Regions from separate parts of the Homo sapiens genome. Here regions 2, 3, 4, 5, 6 and 7 are each linked to region 1. The links are contacts of gene promoters, found by promoter capture Hi-C in human tissues and cell types (Jung and others, 2019). All regions are on one chromosome and are shown on one strand. The core of a region is centred on a gene start or on the middle of the fragment in contact, and the rest is flanking DNA. Distances in the headings are between cores, read along the strand shown. Region 1 holds the start of ETV1 (ETS variant transcription factor 1). Region 2 overlaps DGKB (diacylglycerol kinase beta). Region 3 overlaps DGKB (diacylglycerol kinase beta). Region 4 overlaps DGKB (diacylglycerol kinase beta). Region 5 overlaps LOC107986770 (a long non-coding RNA gene). Region 6 overlaps LOC107986770 (a long non-coding RNA gene). Region 7 overlaps LOC107986770 (a long non-coding RNA gene).

Region 1 (2,700 bases), core at 66-2,565:
CTGCCCAGGTCCGGGGTTGAGTGCTGTGCGCTCTTACACTCCATTTTAATGTGTCTCCATAACGTTCTATTTAAGGAAGGAAACTTTCAAATAGAAATTGAGAACTGCAGCACGTTTCCTAACGGGCGGAACAGCTGCCGGAAACGTCTTTTGGTCACTAGTTCTGGTCACAAATGAATTTCAACAGCATTGAGTCCCTGGTCCTATCCCCGCGGCCTCCCGTCCGCTGTTGGACACTGGCTCCTTAAAGTGACGCTTTACTGTTCTGAGTCCCATAGGAGGATCAGGGCAAGTGGCTTCAGAGATGCAGCCCTCACTGCTTAACGTCCTAGTTATTGTCCTTGAAACCCGAGCCATCTCACCGCTCGCCCCCAACCCTGGGCTCTGGCTGTTTAAAAGCTGGAGAGGAAGTGAAAGCGTCAAGTACAGTAAGTGACACCCTCCGCCTCCGTGTATACATAACAAAAGCTCAGGAAACGTGCGGGTTCTAGGATATACGAGCAACCCCAAGCACTCCCTCCTCCTCCCCACAGCCACAGTGGACTGGAAGTACCTTTTCCCAGTGCACACGTAGGGACCATTTTGACTTATACTTTTTCACCTAGCTTGCTCTGTTGTCCTCCCATCACAACCTCTGCTAATCAGCAATTCTGCATCTCCTAGGTGCCTTCCTTATAGATTCTTTATGTTTCTGTCCCACGAACGATAGGATCTAATTTTAGTTGAGGATGACTGTTTAAAAAATGTTTCGATAAACCATAATGGTGATGGTGGGTTTTGAAAAACGGGAAAATAAATTGGGCCAAAAGCTGAGTGGGAATGAGGATAGAGAGCGAGGTGAGCTCCTAGTCAGGGCAAGAGTAGAGAGGTTGGAGATCCTGAGGGGAGGGCAGCTGAATAAGGCGGTACGGGCTTTGTGGATCGCGGCTCTAAGGGTATACCAGAACCGCACAACAGTACTTTAAGGAAACCAGCCCAATAGTGGACCTAACACCCCAATAATGGGAACTGGCGACTCGAAACACACGGTTTCAGTATCCCCAGGCGCCTTAACAATAAGCAGCGGGTTACAGAGGAAATCGAGTCTCTCCGTGGCGCTTCCAGGCTGAGGACCCAGCGCCTACCGGCCGAGCACCCCCTAGGGCAGAGGGGCGAGGGAGACCCGCGGGAAGGGGCAGCAAGCCGCCTGATTGACAGCCCGAAATCTGATCTTGTGAAAGAGACGCGGAGCCAATGGGAGGCAGCGATCCATCAGTTTGGATTGGAGGCCCCTGGAGGAGAAGTAGAGGAAAAACCACCGAATTGAGCTCTGTCAGAGGCGCTTTCGGCTTCCAAGGGGGAAGTGCTGGGCTATAATTAATGTTTTTATTAAATTTGGAGGGAAGTTTTTGCAGCCTTTCGCCTAGCGTGGCCTTCAGGTGGGTCTTTCCAACAACTTTTTATGTCTCTCCAGATAATTGCATGGTTGTGGGTCGCAAAAACTATCCTGATGAAAGAGGTGTCTCCGTCTCTTTAGTCCCGTTAGGTGCAAAGCAAGTCTCGTTGATCGCCATTGCTAGTTTTGCACACGTTTGCGAATCAGAGCTGCCCGGGGTACACCGACCGCGCAGGGAAACATCGAGAGTGTAAATAAATACATCGCCTCTTGTTCGGATTTTTGCTACTACCGAAAATATGTAAATTGTGAACTCTGTTGGCTCTCTTTGGATCCAGGTGAAGGAGGCGGTGTAGGGAGGGTTATTTTTGTGAATGGGACTGTCGGAGGGTAATTAGCTATGCAAATTCAAGAGCTTCATTCATGATTTTTTTTTAAGCCTAAAAGCCATCTTGTTCCCCTCTAGGTTGATAGAAGTCCAGATCCTGAGGAAATCTCCAGCTAAATGCTCAAAATATAAAATACTGAGCTGAGATTTGCGAAGAGCAGCAGCATGGATGGATTTTATGACCAGCAAGTGCCTTACATGGTCACCAATGTGAGTGATCAGTTTGAAAGTTGCTGTTTATAAACTTGACTCCGTCGGGGGTGGGGAGAGGGAGAAAATGAGAAGGGAGGGGGCACGGGGGTTGGGATTGCAGATACTTATCTGCTTTGTTGCCACTGTAGGGCGACTCTGCTTCTAGAAGCCCAGTCTTCAAAATGAGCTTACCTTTCAGTGATTTGGATAAGGCATAGTTTTGTTTTTAAGACCCCTTTTTCTGATTAAAGTGCCCAACATGAGTGGAAGAGGAGATGGAGGGCAGCAGCAGCTGCTGCACTCAAAGTTTTTGGCTGGGTTTGTCTGCCACATTGAAAAGAATGAAGTTGAGACAAATGCTGACACTTTTTGTTTATATGGGGTGTTTTTGTTTCTTTTTTTTTTCTCATTTTCTCTTTTTTTTTTTTTTCATTTCTCTACTCTTTTTGCTTTTTTTTTTTGTGGGGGTGGGGTGGGGAGGAGGGGCTGTCCAAGAGAGAATAAAACCCACTGTTTTAATCTAGCATTGAACCAGCCTAAAAACAACTTTAAGTGTAAATGCTTCAGGTTGTTTTGATGCTGAGATACCATGAATATATGATTGATAAATAGTAATGTGCTAAGATCGGCACTGGGAAGCAACTCTCCCTGCCTGCTTAACATAAGCTTTCACTGTCAAATAAGTGAGAAAATGAATATTAGAGTTGATACTATGGACTTCTATTTTTCTATTCAGAGAAGATCC
Region 2 (2,914 bases), core at 368-2,867, 440 kb before region 1:
CCACATTTCCTAACACCATCACACGGGAGATTAGGATTTTAACATTTTGGGGGGACTCAAACATTCAGTCTATGAAAATAAATAGTATTTTCTCAGTAACAAAAATATGTCTAATCCTTCTGTCAAAATAGAATCTTCTGTTTTCAATATGCCTTCTGTGTTTAGTAATCTCTGAGGGCCTTTGGCTACAGAGTTTAATTTCTATGAAAATTAAAAATCTACATTATTCTAGTCCTGTATTATTAAACCACCAACTTTTATATAGAAATATAAAATGGTCATTTGTTCAGATAAAAAATTTATATTTTTTATATTACAAAGAGTCCTTAGTAAAATAGGGGCTTGGGGAATGTTCTCTGCTCTTTTCAGCCTGTTTTCCTAGCATCTGAATGAGCATGGGTTTTTTTGTTCTCAGATCTTGCCATTAGCTGAATCAGTGAGTGGCAAAATTAAAGGGAGAGGGGTATACAATGTAATGCAAAAACATACACACTTACACAATCACATGTGCACCTATTTTTAATCCTAAGAAACTTCCCATTAATTAGAGGAAACCTCTGATACTCTGCACTTAACAGTCCCAATTTTTGTTGTACTCACTTCATTTAAGAGCAATAATGAAGAAAATGAACAAGTATAGGCTCTATACAATAATGTGGGAAAACAAAAAGAGAAAAAGAAAGGGAGGAAGGAGCAGGCTGAGAAAAGCAACAAGAAAAATATTGGTATGAGCAGAAGGAAATCACACTGTTTTATTTTATGAACCTCTCACTTCCTCATACCCCCAAACAACCTCGATGCAAAACAACAAATCAGTATTTCAATACCTCAGAATGTATAGTGACACAAAGATAAAACCCAAACCAGGAGAGACTAAGGAAGATGTTAAAGGTAAATATAAAGCAGTTACAGAAGTGAAAGTCAAAATAGAAGCAGTAAAAAGTCACTGATGAGAGTAATAAGGGGCTCAGAGAACAGAACTGATAAAGTAAGCAAAATGAGTCAAAATGAAAGAATATTGGAAGATGATTGTAAAGAAAATTATATATATATATCACAGAAAAAGTTATGAAACAAAGTATAGAACACTGTCTAGCATACAATAGGCATTAAATAATTGCCTATTATTTCTGATTGCCAGAATCAGAATATTTTTTATTGAATATTCAATAAAATTTTCAATATTGAAAATATTGAAAAATAAATGAACCATCAATAGAAAATTGATGTGCTGGTAGAAACAAACTGTATAAACAGGAAAATTTAAAACATAGAGAAAGATATAATTTAAGAAAACTTTTGAGAAATTATTGTAGACTTGAATCTACAGTTTTATAGGGCCAAATGTATTCTAAAACATTGTGGTATGGTTGTGTCCCCACCCAAATCTCACCTTGAATTCCCACATGTTGTGGGAGAGACCTGGTGGGAGGTAACTGAATCATGGGGGCAGTTCTTTCCTGTGCTGTTCTCATGATAGTGAATAAGTCTCACAAGATCTGATGGTTTTAAAAACGGGAATTTCCCCGCACAAGCTCTCTTCTCTTGTCTGCCACCATGTGAGATGTGCCTTTCACCTTCTGCCATGATTGTGAGTCCTCCCCAGCCATGTGGAACTGTAAAGAAAACTCTTTCTTTTGTAAATCACCCTGTCTCAGATATGTCTCTATCAGCAGCGTGAAAATGGACTAATACAGTAAATTAGTACCAGTAGAGTGGGTCACTGCTGAAAAGATACCCAAAAATGTGGAAGCAACTTTGGAACTGGGTAACTGGGCAGAGGTTGGAACGGTTTGGAGGGCTCAGAAGAAGACAGGAAAATGTGAGACAATTTGGAACTCCCTAGAGACTTGTTGAATGGCTTTGACCAAACTGCTGATAGTGATATGGGCAATGAAATTGAGGCTGAGGCTGATGGAGATGAAGAACTTGTTGGGAAGTGAAGCATAGGTGACTCTTGTTGCATTTTAGCAAAATGACTGGTGGCATTTTGCCCCTGTTCAGGACGTACAGGTTTGTTACATACGTAAACATGTGCCATGGTGGTTTGCTGCTCCTATCAACCTATTACCTAGGTATTAAGCCCCATATGCATTAGCTATTTATCCTGATGCTCTCCCACCCCCCACTCCCTGACAGGCCCCAGTGTGTGTTCCCCCTTGTATTTTTTGAGAGTGTTTCACTCTGTCACCCAGGCTGGAGTGCAGTGACACTATCTTGGCTCACTGTAACCTCCGTCTCCTGGGTTCAGGTGATTTTCATGCCTCAGCCTCTTAAGTAGCTGGGATTACAGGCACACTCCACCGTGCCTGGCTAATGTTTGTATTTTTTTTTTAGTAGAGATGGGGTTTCCTCATGTTGGCCAGGCTGGTCTCAAACCCCTGACCTCAAGTGATCCACCTGCCTTGGCCTCCCAAAGTGCTTGGATTACAGGCATGAGCTGCCACGCTTGGCCCATAGTGGAATTTCTTAATAATACAGAGTCAGTGGAACTAAGTACACAAATTCAACAAATTTTAAATTGAAGGCCCCACAATAGCTTCCATCAGTATGTCTAGCCTGTTAAATAGTTCGCCTTTTCTGAACTCATAATTTTAGCATGGTTGCCTAGGATACTTCATTCTCAACAAATCACTCAGATCCCAGTAGGCAAATAGGTAGCAGTGGGACAGCATTAAAGCTGTTTTAGTCTGGTCACTTTATAAAGACTTGTTATTTCCAGCTGTACCCCCTAACTATTGTGGTACATGACTTTATTGTGCTATGAAGCCACTCCATCCATTCATGCATCCATTCAGCAAACATTTGCTGATCCCCCTTGGTAGGCTAAGCACACATGAATGCTACTTCCTCACAAATAAAGCTTAAGGGTTTGATTCTTGTGTCTCACATGTACGCTGCATGGCTTTAAATC
Region 3 (2,730 bases), core at 129-2,628, 420 kb before region 1:
TGTTTTTTCTTCATAACTGTGTTTGATAAAATATGTTTTGTCTTCTTACAGTGTGTGTTCCACAGTTAGCTTCTAATGACTAGTAATTATCAGTATGCCCCCACAACCTGCTATTTATGGTTTGTGAGGATTGGGGGAGGGTAGTTTCTGTTTTTCACTGCCTTATGCCCTATCCAGACTGTTATTCTTCTAAGGTCTTCTGTGTAGGGGCATGGAGAGGATCATGGTTTTTTTTGAACATTAGTCCCTAGTTCTGTCTATTCTATCTCTCTTGTTGCTGATCTCTGTTGACTTCCATTCACTTGCCAAGAGTCTCAAAGTCCACTGAAGCACATGATTTACAGCATTTGTCTTCATTCTTATTGCATCTTCATTTGAAATATTTACTCTGTCTTAACCAAAGATTTTGCCGTATGATTTTATAATACAACTCATTAGAAAAGAAAAACCTCTTATTAATTTCAGTTTTCAGTTTATTTTAATAAAACATGAATTGTTTTGGCCAACGAAATTTTAGCAGCTATGAAGTGAGTTGAGGTTTTAATTTGCTTGTGTGGTTAGGCTTTTGCCTCCTGTACTGTCACTCTCAATAAGAAGAGCATACCCAGGTAGCTTCTTCTCCATCAGCCTGCCCTCTAAAATAAACACACATAGAAAAGACTGAAATCCTGGAGCAAAGTTCTCCAGTCTCACACCGTGGAGCAACATGGTCCAGCCTAGATCAACTGAAAATAGTCAAACCACAGTCTGATAAGCACGAGACACAATGTTATTGGAAGCCGATAGGATTTTTGAGGTTGTTTGTTACTCAGCAACGTTGAACAATAGACATAATAGCACTAACTACATTTGATGAATAAATTAAGGACAAATTTCAAATCCATGTGGGCAACTTTCTAACTCCCTAACATGGCAGTTCCTGGAACCGTTGAACTAGAACTATCACTTCCATTCTCTTCAGCTGCTCCCTGTCACATTCATGCACTAGAATGCCTCATTGCCCTCACTTTCTGACTTCTACTTTACATCCTTTAGCTCTCACACTTCTTCACTCCTTCTTAACTACTGTTTGACCTTCTATAGACCTCATGTACTTGATCCTGAATTTTCTTTCATAACTATAAGCATCTTCTTGGACTAAATTATCTGCTCAATACAGAACCCATAATCACTTGATTATATTCTCAACCAATCTGTTCTTCTTTCATTTCTATGTCTTCTCTGAAAACCCCAAACATAGATCAAGCCCTCAATTTATTCTCTTCACTCCTACATCCAGACTAGCAATAGCACTTGAGAAAATTGTATATAACTTGAGTAATTCCATAAGATGAGATGCAATATGGTCATATCTCATATTGTACAAATAAATTGTTCAACATGCTAGTTAGCTTAAAAGCGGAGAGTTTAGCATCTTCTAAAGGTTTTTCTCATTCTCTGCATTTTACAAGATCCCTAGGGATAGATAGTCCTAAAGTGGGTCAGTCTACTTGAACCTAAGAGCATGTTTTTTTAAATAGAAACAAGGATCACCAATGATTGTTTTATGGTTTTCCATATAACAGCCACTTTTCAGGAAGTTAACCATTTAGAGCCTGTAAGTGCTGTCGTGATCAGTAGTACCTGGACATGTAGAGCCAACACTTTTTTCTAATATCTTCATTTCTTTATATCAGGGTCAGGCAGGATTTTTCTTTATATACCTAAAATATGACATTTTAAAATTCATCCTCTTTCCCTGCATAGTGGGATTATTTTCCCAAAGTATTAAAGTAGTTGACCCTTAATGAATTTAAGGGTCTACTGTTCTGAGCCAACTTGCTCTCAAGTCAATTTCTTACCCTTTGCTCTTTCTACTGGGTGTGTTGGAGATTGAATTCTTAGACTGCATTTGCTAGGCTATTGTGTCATCTGGCATCTGATTTGGTTCAGTCACTGGAAGTCATTGGTGATATAACGAATGGAGGGATTAAGGGAAATTTTCAAGGTATCTCTCCTTCTCCCTCTGGGGCAGCATCTCTAATAATGGCTGTATCTCTTCTTTGGATCCAACTTCTCTTGAATATACCAACTAAGATTCTATGTTATGCTGGGTCACTCCACCCCTGGGCTCTGGTAATACAACCTCCTCCTTTTTCTCCTTCAAGCTAAAGATAGTAGCAACTCCCTGCTGTTGCGAATCTTGTGTTGCTTCATTAGCCCAAGATTGGATTCTCATCTATTCCTAAAAGACACCAAACTCTTTCCTGCCTCGGTTCCTTTGTCCTTCCTGATGTCTCTCGCTTAGAATGGGCTTTTCTTATATTTTTGCATGGAGAGCTCCTTCTTCTTTAGGTCCCATTCTAGACATCATCTCTTAAAAGCTGTGCCTGGTTTCCATTACTCTCTCACATACAAAGTCCTTTTGTTTCATGAGGCACAACCTATATAGCTTGAATGATTATTGTTTACTTGCATGCTGACTTTTTTCTCCAACTTGGTTATAGCTCAAGGGTGGCTAGAACCTTGTCTGTCTTGATTGTTTCTGCATCCTCAACACCTAGAATGAAACATGTTAGATTCATTATACAGATTTCTTAAATGAGTAAAAGAAAAAATGAATGCATAAAATCTGATTATATCCTTTAAGAAGCCTATCTCATTTAATTCTTACTACAAGCTGATTTCATAATGGCTATTATTATCCAAATTTAACAGTTGAGGGAACTGACATTTATAGAGATTAAGTAG
Region 4 (2,700 bases), core at 75-2,574, 480 kb before region 1:
TCAGGTGGTCTTACAAAGATTTCTTAAAAATCTAGTCATAGCATGATTTCAGTGATTCAATTCAAATTCTTAATGTGTAACACCTAAAACCATTTTACTAGAATAAACTAAAAGAAGTTAGCTAGTAAGCACTTATGGCCAGCGATCACAATAATACTGTTTAAATCCACGCAGCTTATTTCAAAGTATCTGGTCTCTAATTTTTGGAATGAAACAAAGATAGGTTCTCAGCCCCCTGGTCAGAAGTATGTGATTTATTTCTGTACTACTTTCTGCTTTTTCTTTCTTGGGCTTTAGTAACTACACAGTTTGTGGAACATACTGTGTACTCAATAGGTATTTATTCTGTAAGTTATTTACTATTTCATGGTATATTTATCTTCTCTATATTTTTCTATATATCTTACTACCTTTATAGTTTATGCTTTTATAGTGCAAAAAATGCAATAAAGATTGAACTGTGATATGTAGAGTGAGTCTTCATTCTACATAACTATTATTTGAGGTATTAATACCTTTTAGTTTTCTCAGCCTTTACGTACATAACCTTCAAGAACCAGCAATGCAAAACAAACAAAAATTCTTTAACATAAATCCCTGAGCACTGTGTCCTACAAATAAATAATATGAGATTACTTATAGATTAGTTTGTGCTTCTTCTTATCAATTTATATGTCAGCAGTATACAATTTTCAAATTATTATTCTTTATGTGTTGATGGTATTGAACTGAAGACTAAATATAAAATATCACTCTCCTTATACATATATGTATGCTTATACATATATGTGTGTGTATATATGTATGTATACACATATATTCCATACATATATGTATGTATACACATATATTCCATACATATATGTATGTATACACATATATTCCATACATATATGTATGTATACACATATATTCCATACACATATATGTATGTATACATATATTCCATACATATATATGTATATATACATATATTCCATACATATATGTATATATACATATATTCCATATATATGGAAAATTATCATTTCTAAGAATAGAAAAATCAAACCTGTGTATTTTTTTTCTATTTTGCTATAGAGACAAAGAAAAGCCCACAGACTAGAGTAATAGAACACAAAATTGCCATTTGTTATCTAGAGATAAAAATTCCATTAAAGTTCTAGAATATAATGAGAAGTTAAAAATATAATATTTCAGTAGTGACAGAAAAATGCTATATCAAAGCCAAATATTTTTACTTACCATATAAAGTACCATTGAGAAATTATTTCTGTGAATTCAACAAAATGCTTTTGAAGTTCCAGAGCAATTCAAATTGTCTTACATCATGATGATATATTCTGTTGATGTATTCATATTTATAATTTTCTTGATCTTCTGTAAGAATCTTTAATGTACAAATGAAAAAAGCCAATTGAAAATTGGCATCCAATCAATTTCATGAGATATTCTCTTAAATGTGTATCTTACATATATTTTTGAGTCAGGTATGACATAGCAAATAGAATATAGGAGATATTTGTATTTATTTTCCTCTGAAGGCTTTTAACATGTATCTTTGTAGAATCACATTTGTAGGAATTCATGTTTTCTTTCACTTTAAACTTTTAGGAATTAAACTGTTATTTCAGGAGTACAATTGATTTTTAAATTACTGACATTCACAATCTATTAAAAACAGTGAAAGTAAAGAAAGGATGAAGTATATCACAATGTCATCATTCAGGTATTTGACCTCACTTTTGCCTCAGTCAAGACAAGTTCATTATTGTAGACTGAATTTTTTTCATTTAAAAATGTAAATTATTATCATGTTTTAAGGCACACTTCTACCTTGTGTATATGTCACTATCTTTTATTAGCCAACTAGGTAAACAGGACTACTGAAATTAAAAGTTAAATGTTTGTCATTTTTAGTGTTTTGAATAAAATCAGTTTTATTAGAAATAGTGGTGTTGTGCAGGGACCTTTTGAAGAGAATCATATCTTCATGAGAGTTTCATGTCCTAAAGCACTTTTATGTCTTTAGTTTCTGTGTACTAGAATGAATTGATGTGTTTTTAAAGAAGAAACATACTCATTTTTCATTCTAACTTAGAATACTTTGCTATATCATTTAAATGAAATTTTTGAAATTTGTGTGTGTAAGCATTATCATGAGGCCAGTTTTTCCATATGACTAAATTACGGTTTGCCTATAAACCATATAGTGTACAGATAAATAGGTAAATATATAGATGTATATATGTGTATACATATATGTATTTGTGATGCATCGATTTATATATTTGTATACATATATATTTGCTAAGAGTTTTCATTTTATCATATTTATATAAATCTCTTACAATTATATGTGCTCTTCTATGTGTGTATTCCTAATGTAAAGCTTTTAAAATAATTTACTATGCTCCTCGATTCATATATTTTTATTTGTATGTTGAGACTTGCTTAAATACTTTGTTGGATCTGAGCAGGTAGAAATGAGAATGGTTAAATGAGTCAGGACTGTGTGTGTTCTCATGCAGGGGGTTTCAATTCACCTGAAGCTTCCTGCATCATTTCTTGGCACCATTAATAAAACCAGAACACTTACTTCTGTATCCAGGCTGTTTAAAATCATGTTTGTAAGATGGCTCTTTGGAATAGAGTGAGTGAGGACTGGAGGATGAATAAAGAAGGGAATAACTTTTCTCC
Region 5 (2,700 bases), core at 105-2,604, 350 kb after region 1:
AAATTTTGATCAACAAAGTCTTTTACATTATTATATTGGTCTCTCTGTTTTTAATATGAAGGATTTCAATTATGTATAAATAGATGCTCACCCATTTTCTCGGAACTTACTGGCAAAGGTGAGAGTTAGTACAAAATCCGTGAAAAGTCTTTCATGGTAATTACTCCCTTTTTCACATCTCACAGTAGGAGGAAAAGTCCACTCCCAAAGGGCACAACACCTTCCCTCCACTGTCTCACTCACTGGGGAGCGTTTGTGGGATCACAAAGACCTTTGCTCCAGGGTAAAGCAGCTGTTCTGGGTGCTTGCCAACTGAAGTGATGGTCTAGCAAAATCTGTCAACAAGGGAAACATGCCACATCCTCATACTCATGTGGCTGCCTTCTCTTTCCCTATTTGGCATACCCCTTGGGACACTGCCTTATACAAAAGACCAAGACAGGTGACATACGTGTCAACATATGGCACTGCCCTCCTGGGGTAATGTACATGAAAGCATATGGTGCTGCTCTCTTACTCGTCAGCAAACACAGGAAGGACTCTGTCATAGTTACCCTGTTTATTTTCCATAAGGTTCTGAATTGTCCCCGAAAGGGGATAATTTGCATTATTTCTAGATATAAGGAAATATCACAGCTACATTAAAGAGCAGATGGTTGTCTGATTCTTGAGAAATACATATGTATATAATATTTTGTATCTATAGTTTATAAATCTTTCTGCATATTTAGAACTATATGTTCTAAATAAATGTATTTCTAAAGAAGTAAATGGCTATAATCATATATGTGTATATATACATATACATGTATGTCATATAAATAAAATCACACATACACATTCTTAGTAAAAAGATTATCATCTTTTTCTTATAAGTGCTTCGTTTTTAAGTGTTTCATTCTGACATATATTATAAAAGAATTTTCAGTTCGTTGGTCTTTTTTATGTTTTTACATCCAAGTATTTTCATTTGCTCTGGCTAACTCATTCTCACTCTATTGATTTTAGTTTAAAACTCTTCTTTCAGGAAGTCCAGTATCCTAAGTTAAGAATAAATTTCTCTTTTGGGGCCTTCTAAAACTTGGCTCTTCCTTGCCATTGTACTCACCGTCGCTTAAACACTTGACATTACTAACCACAACACATAAACATGGGGAAGAGATGGTCTCCCTTTTTTACCAGGGTGTTTCTCCCATGATGAGCATGGGTTCTAGCAAGAGGTAGGTGGTTAATAAATATTGAATGAATAAATTTAAAAATGCATCCACATAGGTAGGAAATTATGAAGACAGGAAAAGGCAAGGGTAATACGAAGAAGAAATTTAGCAGTAGAAAAGTCAGTATCTACTAAGTGACTTGATGTGGCAATTAAAGAACAAAGCAGAATCAAGAAGGAATCAGATATTTTTGGTAAGGGTGGAGAAAGGAGAGAGGCTAACAGTTTCCTTGGCCTGCTGTCTTCAATGACCCAATCTGATTACCTCCTTTGTTCCCAGTATTTGGGATGAATTATATCATGTTATTATAAGAAAAACAAACATGTTTTGTTACCACCTCCTTTTTTCCCACCTATCTGATGATCTGCGGTCCCTTGTTGACCTGCTCCAATGCCAATTCATTATCTGCTGTTGACAAACCAAATGTAACATTAGCACCCCGAAGACCACAACAGTTGAGACTCTCCACTGAGACATAAAGATTTTCCTATCTCTGGAAGATAGTGTTCTTTCAACTTCACGGAGCTGCCCTAGAAAGTTGCTCAGAATAACATCATTCTAGTCTCCAAAGCCTCCTCTTTCTTTGCCCTTGCTTAGACTCTGCTTTTGGCAAACTGTTCATTATTTGTTGAGGGAAGTTATTTCAAATCCCAACATAAGTATTTACTAGAAATACGCACTCTGTACCACTTTAATTACGTCGAACGGTATTTAAAATACTTCATTTAAACGTTATGATTTTGTGAAAATGCCAAACGCAATGCCTAGCACATAACTGGCACTTTATACACATTAATGTCCTGCCTACATTGTTTGAGAATTATTATCTATGTACCCTAATCATGCCTTCAAAGTTCTTTATAGAATAGAGATGGGCAAGCTCTTTTTGTTAATTTCCAGATAGAAAATATTTTCAGCTTTGAGGACCTTGCACTTTCTTTCATTGCAAAACTAAAGATGGATAATATGTAACAAAATTGATGTAGTTGTGTTCCAATAAAACTTTATCTACAAAAACAGTCAATAGTCTGTATTGGCCCATGGACTATAATTTGTTGATCACTGTAATAAATGCTTTGATGTCCCAGGTAAAAGCATGTGACATTTGACACATTGTTAGGCCCCTAAGAGACTTTAACTAGATAGCTAAGCAGTTGTTTGTTTATGTGTGGGACTGGATGGGGAGTATGAAGTAGGATTGATGAGTGCATTTTCTCATGTTTTCCAGGCAGCATTATAATTCGTTGATAGTTTTTTTTGTTTTTATTTGTTTCTTGTGGATAGCTGAGCTGTATTATACAGTTTAATAGCAGTAGTTGATGGGGTGTGAGTTTTTTTTGTTTTTATTTGTTTCTTGTGGATAGCTGAGCTGTATTATACAGTTTAATAGCAGTAGTTGATGGGGTGTGAGCTGTCAATTATATTTTAAAAACCCACAACATTGTCATCAAGGAATAAGTGCCTTATTGAAAGCTTGCTATCC
Region 6 (2,700 bases), core at 86-2,585, 380 kb after region 1:
ATTAGCTGTAATAATTATCACTAAACCCAAATATTATTGGGCTGCAATAATGAGTTTTCTTGTATAATACTCAAATATTATATAAATTTGAGTGGACGTTATTCAATCCAAAACATGAAACTCAATAACACCACAGTAGATGAGAAATGACCTCACTAAAGCAGTGGTGTCAAAGATCATAGAACATCTTTACATACAACACATTATTTTTTCCTTTAGCTTAAAAAAGGGGATGATATAGATTTTTTCCATATTCAAGAAATGTGAAAACTTAATACGTTAACATCTGGTTATGGATAAATATGTCCACATTAAGAAGATGATTTTTTGAGATCTAATTACAGTTTTTATAATTCTATAGTTTTTAAGATTACAGTTTCTAAAATGCGTTTTTCAAATGTATAGCATAATTACAAATAGGAATAAGAAAGCTAATCTTAATCTACCTAAATCTTCTCTATTTAATGACTTTGCTTATGTAAATGTTTCTAATTATACTGAAATATAGTGTATCATTTCATAACTTTGCACAAATATATTTAATATATATATCTTTCATAACTGAATTTTATTATTTAATAACTAAGGAATAGATTGTTTTTAGCTGAAATGTATCTCAACTTAAGAGACTGCGTTTTCAATTACCCTAAATAAGTGTTTTAATATATGTATATACACATATATAAAAAATATATAATATATCATGATGTAACACATAAATAACGTTATACTGCGGGGCGAGGTGGCTTACGCCTGTAATCCCAGCACTTTTGGGAGGCTGAGGTGGGTGGATCACAAGGTCAGAAGATCGTGACCATTCTGGCTAACACAGTGAAATCCCATCTCTACTAAAAATACAAAAAATTAGCCAGGCGAGGTGGCAGGCGCCTGTAGTCCCAGCTACTCAGGAGGCTGAGGCAGGAGAATGGCATGAACCCGGGAGGCAGAGCTTGCAGTGAGCCGAGATCGCGCCACTGCACTCCAGCCTCGGTGACAGAGCGAGGCTCTATCTCAAAAAAAAAAAAAAAAAGTTATATTCATATAATCTTACATTAACATATCAGTTGTATAATACATTAATTTATAATATATATTTAAAGGGTATTTAATATGTATATATAGTATGATCAAATAAAAGTGCAATTTAGGCCAGGTGTGGTGCCTCACACCTGTAATCCCAGTACTTTGGGAGGCTGAGGTGGGCGAATCACCTGAGGTCGGGAATTCGAGACCAGCATGACCAACATGGAGAAACCCCATCTTTACTAAAAATACAAAATTAGCTGGGCATGGTGGCACATGCCTGTAATCCCAGCTACTAGAGAGGCTGAGGCAAGAGAATCGCTTGAACCCAGGAGGTGGAGTTTGAGGTGAGCGGAGATTGTACCACTGCACTCCAGCCTGGGCAACAAGAGTGAAACTCCATCTCAAAAAAAAAAAAAAGTGCAATTTAATGCTGCTTCAGTGTCAGTAAATTAATTTTGACATGGCAACATATTTAACTGAAGATATTAGTGAAAGGGAATAACTAACAAGACCAATACTGTCAATAATAATATCATCAACTGAATTTTGATTGAATAAATCTTCTGAAATTTAAATGAACTTAGTAATACATCATAAATATATGTGTTTCAGTAAACTTGACAATAAGAAAGGTAAATTACCTACTGTTAACCTTTAAGAGAAGAAGGAGACTGAATTAATAAAGGATTATATGTATTAAAAAATGTAGACTTGGCTGGGCACAGTGGCTCATACCTGTAATCCCAGCACTTTGGGAGGCTGAGGCGGGCAGATCACAAGGTCAGGAGTTTGAGACCAGCCTGGCCAACATGGTGAAACCCTGTCTCTACTAAAAATATAAAAATTACCCGGTTGTTGTGGTGGGCACCTGCAATCCCAGCTACTCATGAGGCTGAGGCAGGAGTATTGCTTGAACCCGGGAGACAGAGGTTGCAGTGAGCTGAGATCATGCCACTGCACCCCAGCCTGGGTGACACAGCAAGACTCTGTCTCAGAAAAAAAAAAAATGTAGACTTCTACAGAACAGAAATAAACATGTAAGTTGAATAAGAATCTACATTTATAATAAAATCTTTCTAGGTGAGTCATGTGATTACCATGTTTTATTAAATGAGCAAAAGTGGAAATGAGATAAATGAATATATGCAAAATGCAGATGACTGGTAGTCCAATAAGAGAGCATTTCCTAATTCACAGTGAGTACAAATGGACAAGGTTTCAGTGGCATTGTCACATGCAATGTCAGATACTGTATTACCTGAACAAAATGATGTCTTGCCTAGGAAAATTATGATGCAGTAATACTGTTTTATGCTTACTTAACATTATAGACTAATTATACTTTTAACAGTAGGAGATTTTAAGCATAAAAAATCACTAAGAATATAGGAAGCAAACATATTTTCTTTTCACGTAGTTAGCATTTTATGACAGGAAACAATGATAGCATATTGTAAACATCTTTTGCCTACCTTTGTATTTTAATAGTTCAATATAACCACATTTCTCCAAAGACTCATTCTATTATTGAAAGATAATGGTGGGAACCAACTTAAGAACATGTAAAATGCAAGATTTTTTAATCAATGAGAAGCTATTAATTTAACCAACCCTTCCTGTAATAATATTGAGACAGACTGTCTGCCTGTTTTTACATTATAGCTAGCTTTGCAA
Region 7 (2,759 bases), core at 49-2,548, 420 kb after region 1:
AATCGTGTGTCAGTGTAGGTTCATCAGTTGTAACAAAGGTACCACTCAGGTGGGGGATGTTGATAATGAGGGAGGCTATGCATTTGTATGGGGCAGAGGGAGTATGGGAATTCTCAGTACTTCTGCTCAATTTTGCTATGAACCTAAAACTGCTCTAAAAAATAAAGCTTATTTAAAAAATTAGCAAACACACAGTAAGGATATGGTAGTTATACCCTTAAAGATTTCATATGCTGAAATTAACACATAATAGAAAAAATAATGTCTAAGTAGAAGCTGAGCTTAGTGGCGCATGCCTGAAGTCCCCACTGCTCAGGAGGCTGAGGCAGGAGGCTCCCTTGAGCCCAGTATTCTGAGACCAACCTGGGCAACAAAGCAAGACCCCATCTCTAAAATAAATAAATAAATAAATAAATAAATAAATAAATATTTTAAAATATAAGATGGAGTCACAAAAATGAACAAAAAATGGCAATATATAAAATGACCAGGTAGATTTGAAGTGGAATGGCTTCAAACTTTTAGAATAGAAAATGCAATTTTTATAGCAGTTATTTAATAACTGAAAAAAGTCTTAAAATAAGATCAGCTGCAGATCAGACAGCTGAAAAGAAAATCAAGACTTACAATGTGTTGGGACATAACCAAAGTGAAATTAAGAACGAGAAGGACTAACATATTCATCGTCATCATTCCGGAGGAGATAGTAGAGTCAATGGAGGGGGAAAGACAGTAGACTATTTGAAGAAATAACCATTAATACTTTCCAGATGTTAACAAAAGATATCACAGATACAGTATGCAAAATATTCAAGATGATTAAGACAAACGAATTCATTCATGGATACCTTGTAGTAAAACTGCAGAAATCTTTAAGACAAAAAAAGAGAAAAATCTTAGAAGTGTCAAGAAAGAATAAAGAGATGACCAGAAAGAAGTTACAAGTAAATTTACAGAATACTTCTCAATAGCAGTAATGGAAACCATTTGGCAGTGGAACTCTCTCTCCACAGACCTTAGAGAAAAGTATCAATATAAAATTATATATAAAATAAAACCATGTTTAAGAAAAATTCAAAAACACAAACATAAACTAAATAATTATCAACTTATTCTTAGTTATAGAAATTTCTCAATGATGTATTTCAAGAAAAAATGGGTGCAGAAAGTATCAGATGGAAGAGGGAATACTAAGCAAATAAATGTTAAACAAGCTGTGAAGTTTAAATATTGGTTGTAACATCATAACTAGATGTTTATCTTGTTCAGTTAAAAATGAGATCTAAAAATCTTGAAATAGTACAGTCTAAAGCAGAAAATTCCGTTAGATTACATTAAAGTCCTTAGAGGAGGGTAAAGGTTTATTTGATTAAAACAACCACCTTACAATTTCTAGAGAAATTCGTAAGAACACAGAAATAGATTGCCGAACTTTCTACCTAATACAGGGGGGAAAATCTAGTAAGGAAAATAAATGTGAATAACTAAAACCAAAATTTAAGTGGGGAAATAATAGAAAGTAATGACAATGATTTTTTTTAAAATAAAATATTGACTTTAAAGATTGTCAGTTTGGTCTCAAATATTTGATCATATTGTGTTTATAATACATAAATTTACAAAATAGGCAGGCTGAAAGAAGTGTTGAAAAGTAAAGGCCAGGCTAATATTAATACAATTACTGGTGTAGCAATTAGACCAAAATATTTTATAGCTAAAACAGCATGACAAAAGGGTATTAGTATATATTAATGGAAGCTTGAATTCATTGAGAAGATATAACAATTCTAAACTGGTATGTGCCCAATAACATAGGTTCAAATCATATAAAAAAGTGACAAATGTACAAAAAGAATTTGAAAAATTCACTATCAGAGCATATAATTTAATGCAACTCTCTTCCTACTCAATATATTAAACTCAAAAGAAGAAAGATTTTAATATTGGAAATATTAATCTTAATCCAAAAGTCCCATATAAACCCTGCACTTAAATGGAGAATATATTTCTTAAAACACAGAGTACTTTACCAGCATTGACTGCAGAATAGTCCATAGAGCAAGTCTCAGCAAATTTCAAAGCTGACATTCCTATATTACAGCATAATTTAATTATAAATCAGTAAAATAAAATACTCTAAATATTTGGAAATTTAAACATACAATTCTTAGTAAGTCAATAACAAAGAAGAAATCACAATGGAAATTATTCACAATTATTTAGACCATCAAAATAATGAGACACTATAAATGACTTTCAGCCTTGCCCTCTCTCTCTCTCTATATATATCTAGATATATACACACATGTATACACACTCTGTGTCTCTCTGTATATACATACAAACACACATTCACATGCACACATACGTATATAAAACTGACATTTCAGATCATAAGTGAAAATATGATAAATGCATTAAATAAGAATTCAGTAAAAGGAGCTTCGATGCTTGTTATTGTTTTGTTTGTTTGTTTGTTTGTTTTTTTGAGACAGAGTCCACCTCTGTTGCCCAGGCTGGAGTGCAGTGGCACTCTCAGCTCACTGCAAACTGCCTCCTGAGCTCAGGCGATCCTCCCTCCTCAGCCTCCCAAGTAGCTGGGACCACAGGCACACGCCACCACTCCCAGCTAATGTTTGGTACTTTTGGTACAGACAGGGTTTCACCATGTTGCCCAGGTTGAACTCGAGCTCATGAACTCAAGCAATCTGCCTGTCTCAGCCTCCCAAAGTGTTGGGATTACAGGCGTGAACCACCAC

Evidence for each region. Contacts are between HindIII fragments. The study calls those that stand out against the background at their distance.
Region 2: a contact is called between a fragment that was not itself captured here and the fragment with the promoter of ETV1 in region 1, in 1 of the 25 tissues and cell types used here (H1 embryonic stem cells).
Region 3: a contact is called between a fragment that was not itself captured here and the fragment with the promoter of ETV1 in region 1, in 1 of the 25 tissues and cell types used here (mesenchymal stem cells).
Region 4: a fragment that was not itself captured here is called in contact with the fragment with the promoter of ETV1 in region 1 in 3 of the 25 tissues and cell types used here (dorsolateral prefrontal cortex, hippocampus and mesenchymal stem cells).
Region 5: a contact is called between a fragment that was not itself captured here and the fragment with the promoter of ETV1 in region 1, in 1 of the 25 tissues and cell types used here (lymphoblastoid cells).
Region 6: a fragment that was not itself captured here is called in contact with the fragment with the promoter of ETV1 in region 1 in 1 of the 25 tissues and cell types used here (lymphoblastoid cells).
Region 7: a contact is called between a fragment that was not itself captured here and the fragment with the promoter of ETV1 in region 1, in 1 of the 25 tissues and cell types used here (stomach).

The regions. Positions count from the first base shown.
Region 1 is chr7:13,988,281-13,990,980 of GRCh38, reverse strand. It overlaps ETV1 (ETS variant transcription factor 1), which reads left to right and starts at 1,315. Exons shown (of 14, transcript NM_004956.5): 1 at 1,315-1,418; 2 at 1,517-1,713; 3 at 1,842-1,973. The coding sequence starts at 1,929. The HindIII fragment of the contact is 5,948 bases long and covers 1-2,700 here.
Region 2 is chr7:14,426,314-14,429,227 of GRCh38, reverse strand. The region is part of intron 21 of DGKB (diacylglycerol kinase beta); the gene reads left to right. Among named protein-coding and RNA genes, the nearest start is that of ETV1, 440 kb to the right of the region's middle. The HindIII fragment of the contact is 6,067 bases long and covers 1-2,914 here.
Region 3 is chr7:14,405,390-14,408,119 of GRCh38, reverse strand. All of the region lies in intron 21 of DGKB (diacylglycerol kinase beta), which reads left to right. Among named protein-coding and RNA genes, the nearest start is that of ETV1, 420 kb to the right of the region's middle. The HindIII fragment of the contact is 5,499 bases long and covers 1-2,730 here.
Region 4 is chr7:14,469,477-14,472,176 of GRCh38, reverse strand. All of the region lies in intron 21 of DGKB (diacylglycerol kinase beta), which reads left to right. Among named protein-coding and RNA genes, the nearest start is that of DGKB, 430 kb to the left of the region's middle. The HindIII fragment of the contact is 7,074 bases long and covers 1-2,700 here.
Region 5 is chr7:13,637,226-13,639,925 of GRCh38, reverse strand. The region is part of intron 2 of LOC107986770 (a long non-coding RNA gene); the gene reads right to left. Among named protein-coding and RNA genes, the nearest start is that of ETV1, 350 kb to the left of the region's middle. The HindIII fragment of the contact is 3,683 bases long and covers 1-2,700 here.
Region 6 is chr7:13,610,096-13,612,795 of GRCh38, reverse strand. The region is part of intron 2 of LOC107986770 (a long non-coding RNA gene); the gene reads right to left. Among named protein-coding and RNA genes, the nearest start is that of ETV1, 380 kb to the left of the region's middle. The HindIII fragment of the contact is 7,071 bases long and covers 1-2,700 here.
Region 7 is chr7:13,565,978-13,568,736 of GRCh38, reverse strand. The region is part of intron 2 of LOC107986770 (a long non-coding RNA gene); the gene reads right to left. Among named protein-coding and RNA genes, the nearest start is that of ETV1, 420 kb to the left of the region's middle. The HindIII fragment of the contact is 3,843 bases long and covers 1-2,759 here.